2 separate regions of the Homo sapiens genome follow, and region 1 is linked to region 2. Evidence: promoter capture Hi-C in human tissues and cell types (Jung and others, 2019). All regions are on one chromosome and are shown on one strand. Each heading gives the region's core, a stretch centred on a gene start or on the middle of the fragment in contact. The rest is flanking DNA. Distances are from core to core; before and after follow the strand shown. Region 1 has its middle 37 kb from the start of DPPA2. Region 2 holds the start of DPPA2 (developmental pluripotency associated 2).

The links. Contacts are between HindIII fragments. The study calls those that stand out against the background at their distance.
Region 1: a contact is called between a fragment that was not itself captured here and the fragment with the promoter of DPPA2 in region 2, in 3 of the 25 tissues and cell types used here (psoas muscle, spleen and stomach).

The regions. Positions count from the first base shown.
Region 1 is chr3:109,278,288-109,281,339 of GRCh38, reverse strand. No RefSeq gene overlaps it. Among named protein-coding and RNA genes, the nearest start is that of DPPA2, 37 kb to the left of the region's middle. The HindIII fragment of the contact is 9,547 bases long and covers 1-3,052 here.
Region 2 is chr3:109,315,257-109,318,089 of GRCh38, reverse strand. DPPA2 (developmental pluripotency associated 2) reads left to right here and starts at 1,573. Exons shown (of 9, transcript NM_138815.4): 1 at 1,573-1,806. The HindIII fragment of the contact is 15,346 bases long and covers 1-2,833 here.

The sequences.
Region 1 (3,052 bases), core at 229-2,728, 37 kb after region 2:
TGGCTCATGCCTGTAATCCCAGCTACTCAGGAGGCTGAGGCAGGAGAATCACTTGAACGCAGGTGGCAGAGGTCGCGGTGAGCTGAGACCGTGCCACTGCACTCCAGGCTGGGCTGCAGAGCAAGACTCCATCTCAAAAAAAGAAATAAATAAATAAATACTAAGCATGCACTAATCAGAGAAGGAGATTAACAACTTGGAAATATACTGACCTTCTGCTATTTATTGTCTATTGTATGGAGGCAGATTAGTGACTATATGGCCAATACTATAAATTGTAGAACATTTCTTTTTTTTTTTTTTTTTAAGAGATGGGATCTTGCTATGTTGACCAGGCTGGTCTGAAACTCCTGGCCCCAAGTGATCCTCCCATCTTGGCCTCCCAAAGTGCTGGGATTACAGGCATGAGCCACCACACCTGGCTATAAATTGTATAACATTTCTTGAAAGTGATTTTAGATATTTTTTTAAAGGAGGCTTTCTAAAAAATCCTCAGACACTTTTATGTTAGTGAAATGTATTTTCTGAATCTGTAACTATAACCACTATTCCATAAAGTTAAGGTTTATTCCTATATTTTAAAGTTGGACTTGTCTTTCAAGTGAAACAATGGTAGATGAGGTAAAAAAACAACACACGGTTGTCTACTTGCTGCATTATATCTATTTATTCATTTTTATCACTGCATTTAAATGTGTTTTATTGGGACATCTCAAGAGCCTTTTCCAGCTTTGCTATTGGATTAAGATTGAGCATGCTTAGCAGATAGTAGTTATTCAGTCAACATTTCTTCAATGAATGAATAAATAGCTTACACATAAAAAGCATGAGTGGTGTTTAAGAGGGGCTAGATTTCTCAGTCTTATTTTTTTCCCCACAGATATGACTAACAGTGAAAGAAGGAGGTATCATGAAGCTGAGCAATGAAATGTAGTGGTTCATAGAATTCCCACAGCTTACTAAATTTCAAAAAGACAAAACTCTTATTCCTTTTTTTCTTCAGCCTCTCTTATTTTATTTTTGAATGTTATTTATTTATGTATTTATGTTTTTGGGGACGGAGTTTCACTCTTGTTGATGAGGCTGGAGTGCAATGGCGCGATCTCGGCTCACTGCAACCACCACCTCCGGGGTTCAAGCGATTCTCCTGCCTCAGCCTCCTGAGTAGCTGGGATTACAGGTGTCCACAACCACACCGGGCTAATTTTTTGTATTTTTAGTAGAGACGGGGTTTCACCGTGTTGGCCAGGCTGGTCTCAAACTCCTGACGTCAGGTGATTCACCTGCCTCAGCCTCCCAAAGTGCTGGGATTACAGGCGTGAGCCACTGACCCCGGCCTCAGCCTCCCTTATTTTAAAGGTATAGTGAAGAGAATACTGATGTTGCAGTTAAACAGAGCCATCGTCAAGTCCTGGCTTTATCACTTACCAGCTTTGAGAAAGCAGGGGCGCTCCTCACGCTCCCTCAGCCTGTTTCCTCAACAGGGGTGTTTCTTATCAGATTGGGCCGTTGTTTTGTGAGAGAATGTCTATAAAACTTGCAGAAAACAGATCCTTAATAAATGGCAGCTATTATTGTGATTCTCAGTAGTTCTCAGTAAAACGTGTAGAAAAGGAAAGACAAACTACACCAATGTAAGGCAGGAACCTTGAAAAGTTAGGAAGCGCTGATGGCAGGAACTGAGACAGTACTTTGTCTCATCTCTCCAGTAGTAATTTCCTCCAAAATGTCCTGACTGTCAAATAAATAATCTTTAGCATTTACCTCATTTAACTCTCCTACTTGAAACCTCTTTACCTCTTTCTGACAATGTCTTAATAGGAAGTTCATGTCTGTTCTTAATGTGATGCTATTCTTTTTTTCAGATTTCCCAATGCAAAATCTCTGCTCCCGCTGACACTGGTGAACTTGTTCTCATTCACATCTAGGCTTTACTTACAGCTGTTCTTCCCACCTTGCCCTGTCCTCTCACTCACCTTTCCCTGCCCCATATCCCATAAAAGGATCAAATGGCAAAGCCCTCCCACAGAAGAGTTGAGAGCTACACTTCTTGTTTTCTGAATTATCGTATATGCCTTTTGTTGCAATTTAACTTTACATTAGAAGTATCATTTGTCTTTTCAATAAGAGTGTTTCGGCCGGGCACAGTGGTCACTCCTGTAATCCTAGCACTTTGGGAGGCCAAGGCGGGTGGATCACCTGACGTCAGGAGTTCAAGACCAGCCTGCCAACATGGTGAAACCCTGTCTCTACTAAAAGTACAAGAATTAGCTGGGCATGGTGGTGGGCACCTGTAATCCCAGTTACTGGGGAGGCTGAGGCAGGAGAATCACTTGAACTTGGGGGGCGGAGGTTGCAGTGAGCTGAGATCGTACTGTTGCAGTGAGCCGAGATCGTACCATTGCATTCTAGCCTGAACAACAAGAGTGAGATTCTGTCTCAAAAAAAAAAAAAAAAAAAAAAAAGAGTGTTTCCTCAAGGCTGTATTTGTACTGTTATATTTCTTGGCATCCAACCAAGATGCTAGTATCTTTAATTCATGTTCCTTAGTGAATTCTACAAAAGGAATCTGTGGGTCCAATTACCCCTTCACTGATAATTTTAATAATGCATCTAAAGAATTAGGGCTTTCTTTTCCAAAAACCACATGGGTCTGTGGTTCCCTCAGCTATTTCCACCTTAAAGTACAATTTTCTCCACCATAAATAATTCTATTTTAGGAACACCCTCTGAAAGTAGAGCAAGTGGCTTTCAGGTTATGTAAGCTACCTGAAATTTAGGGATAGCATACTTTTTATATTCCAAATTTCCATCTACAAGCAAGGACAGGTTGCTTAAAGCAATGGTACAACCCCAATGTAAATTAATCGTGTTTTTTTCCCTTCCTAATCCTACGACCTGATGTCTCTTGACTTTTTAAGTAGAACTATTCAGACACATGTATTCCTATCCTTGTTTAATTTTTTTGGCTTGAAAAATTGGCTCAAGTAAAGCCAAGATTCCATTCTTACACTTCATTCTCTTAGTCCCCTAGGACTGTGTAGTCAATTAA
Region 2 (2,833 bases), core at 324-2,823:
TCCTGACATCAGGTAATCCACCTGCCTTGGCCTCCCAAAGTGCTGGGATTACAGGCGTGAGCCACGGTGCCCAGCCAGATAATTGGAGTTTTGAATACTGCTGGATATTTGAACATAACATATATTTGAATACTTTGATAATATTAAATAATGATTTTTTAAATTATGTTTAGATGTAAAAAGGATATCGTAGTTATAATAGGAACGAAGTATTTTTTCCCCCTGGATTTATTTATTTATTTATTGAGACAGCCTCACTGCAGCCTCGGGCTCCTGGGCTGAAGGGATCCTCTGACCTCAGCCCCCTGAGTAGCTAGGACCACAGGCATGTCTCACCACACCCACACGCCCGGTTATTTTATTTTTATTTTCATTTTTATTTTTTTGGTAACAATGAGATCTCACTATCTTGCCGAGGCTGGTCTCATACTCTTGGGCTCAACTGTTCCTGCCACCTCGGCCTCCTGACGTGCTGAGATTACAGGTGTGAGCCATGGCACCGGCCTTTTCCCTGAATTTATGAACGAAATCATAGGCGATCTGGCACTTGTTTCAAAATAACCCATGGAGGAGGAATGGACGGCAATTTAGATGTAACCAGACTGGCTGTAAGTAAATTACTATGACAAAAAGTAGACACACTTTTGTACATGTTTGAACCTTCCCATAATAAAACATTCTCAAAAAGCTGGGGAAAAAACCCCAGGAAAACAAATAAGATTTTTTTTTTTTTTTTTTTGGGGGGACAGAGTCTCTCTCTGTCGCCCAGGCTGGAGTGCAGTGGCGTGATCTTGGCTCACTGCAATCTCCACCTCCTGGGTTCAAGCGATTCTCGTGCCTCAGACTCCCGAGTAGCTAGGGAGTCTGTTCCCTGTTTGTATTGACTACTTCCACGACTGGTAAGCTCTTCCTCAAAAAGTGTAATCTTCTCTAAAGTTTCCCTAAGCTATTCCAATATAGATTCTTCCCATAGATTTTCATAGATTTTCTTACTTTTTTTTTTTTTTTGAGACGGAGTTTCGCTCTTGTTGCCCAGGCTGGAGTGCAATGGCGCAATCTCGGCTCACCGCAACCTCCGCCTCCCGGGTTCAAGCGATTGTTCTGCCTCAGTCTCCCTAGTAGCTCGGATTACAGGCATGTGCCACCATGCCCGGCGAATTTTTGTATTTTTAGTAGAGACGGGGTTTCGCCATGTTAGCCAGACTGGTCTTGAACTCCTGACCTCAGGTGATCCGCCCGCCTCCGCCTCCCAAAGTGCTGGGATTACAGACGTGAGCCACCGCGCCCGGCCTAAAATGATTATATTGTAAAAAATGCAATGAAGAAAAGAAAACATGGTAATGAAATGGTCTTCCCACTCGAAATCCTGTCCCTACCTAAGGCATTAGGATCAACTCAGGCCATTAGGTCAGCTTTCCTCTAAATTGCCCATTCAAAGCACCAGGGGCCACACCCAACCGGGTAGGCGGAGTGCTTTCCTGGCTGCATCTTAGAGGGCTGCATTCAGGTTCCACCCTGGAAGGGAGGAGCCGGAATTCCGATCATTATCTGCCGCGGACTGCCTGTCTCCAAAGCCCTTTGTTTATGGCCTGATCTAGCTAAGGCTTCTAGACTTCAGGAGCTTAAGAATCGTCCGGAGGGCTGGGCGTGGCGGTGCAGGCCTGTAGTCCCACCCACTCCGAAGGCTGCGGAGGGAGGATCAACTTGAGTCTGGGAACTCAGCCAGGAATTCAAGACCAGCCTGGGCAACACAGTGAGGCCCCCTACCCACATCCTCTCCGTCCCCGCAATCTCCTTCCATCCCAGGTCTCCTCTCTACAAAAAATTTAAATATTAGCGGGGCGTGGTGGCGCGGGCCTGTAATCCCAACTACTGGAGTGTGGGGGGAGGGGCGGGGGTGGGACGGCATGGGCTGTAGTGGGAAGATCGCTTGAGTCCAGGAGGTCGAGGCTGCAGTGAGCTATGATCGCGCCACCGCACTCCAGCCTGGGCGTCAGAGCCTGTCTAAAAAAAGAAAAAAAGAAAAAATTACCTGGAGGGCTTGTGGAAGCACAGATTCCTCAGCCCCTCAGCCTCACCCTCCATGATCTGATTCAGGATGTCTTGGGTGGTGGGGTGGGGCCTCATAATTTATTTTTCCAATCAGTTCCTCAGTAAACTGAAGCTGAGCTTTTTCAGACTACATTTTTTTCTTTTGTAAATTTATTTATTTATTTATTTATTCATAGAGATGAGGTCTCACTATATTGCCCAGGCTGGTCTCGAACTTCTGGACTCAAGTGGTCGTCCTTCCTCGGCCTCCCAAAGGCCTCCCAAAGGATTACAGACATGAGCCACCGTGCCAGGTCCAGACAATATTTTGAATGTGTTAAATACACTAGTAACTTAAATGGACCATGGTCACCCTGGGTCCTGAGATTAATGGACCAAATCATTTTCCCAGGGACAGAAAAAGCCCATTGTAAAGGTACTTGGTTGTCCAGTGCTGCCATATTATTGGTGAATGAAATTTCCTTTAGTTGCTCTGGCTTCTTAGAGTGACCTATGAGAACACCTGCTTCATATTTTGCCACATTCCGTGTCCAACATTAGGCTCCAGCAATTCCTAAGTGCATCGTTCCTTCTGCCTTCGTTACTCCACCACTTGCCTTGGTGTTTTGGCTCTTGTTGCTATTCTGAACAGCCAAATCCTTCTCCTCCAACCAGCTCAATATTATTGCAGGCTTAATATTTGTATTTAGAACTAGATCGAAGAGAGATTATGTTATCCAACCCCCACAATTTAAATCTGGAATCTTTCAGTGAGTAACATACCCCCGTGCATAAATCAGGT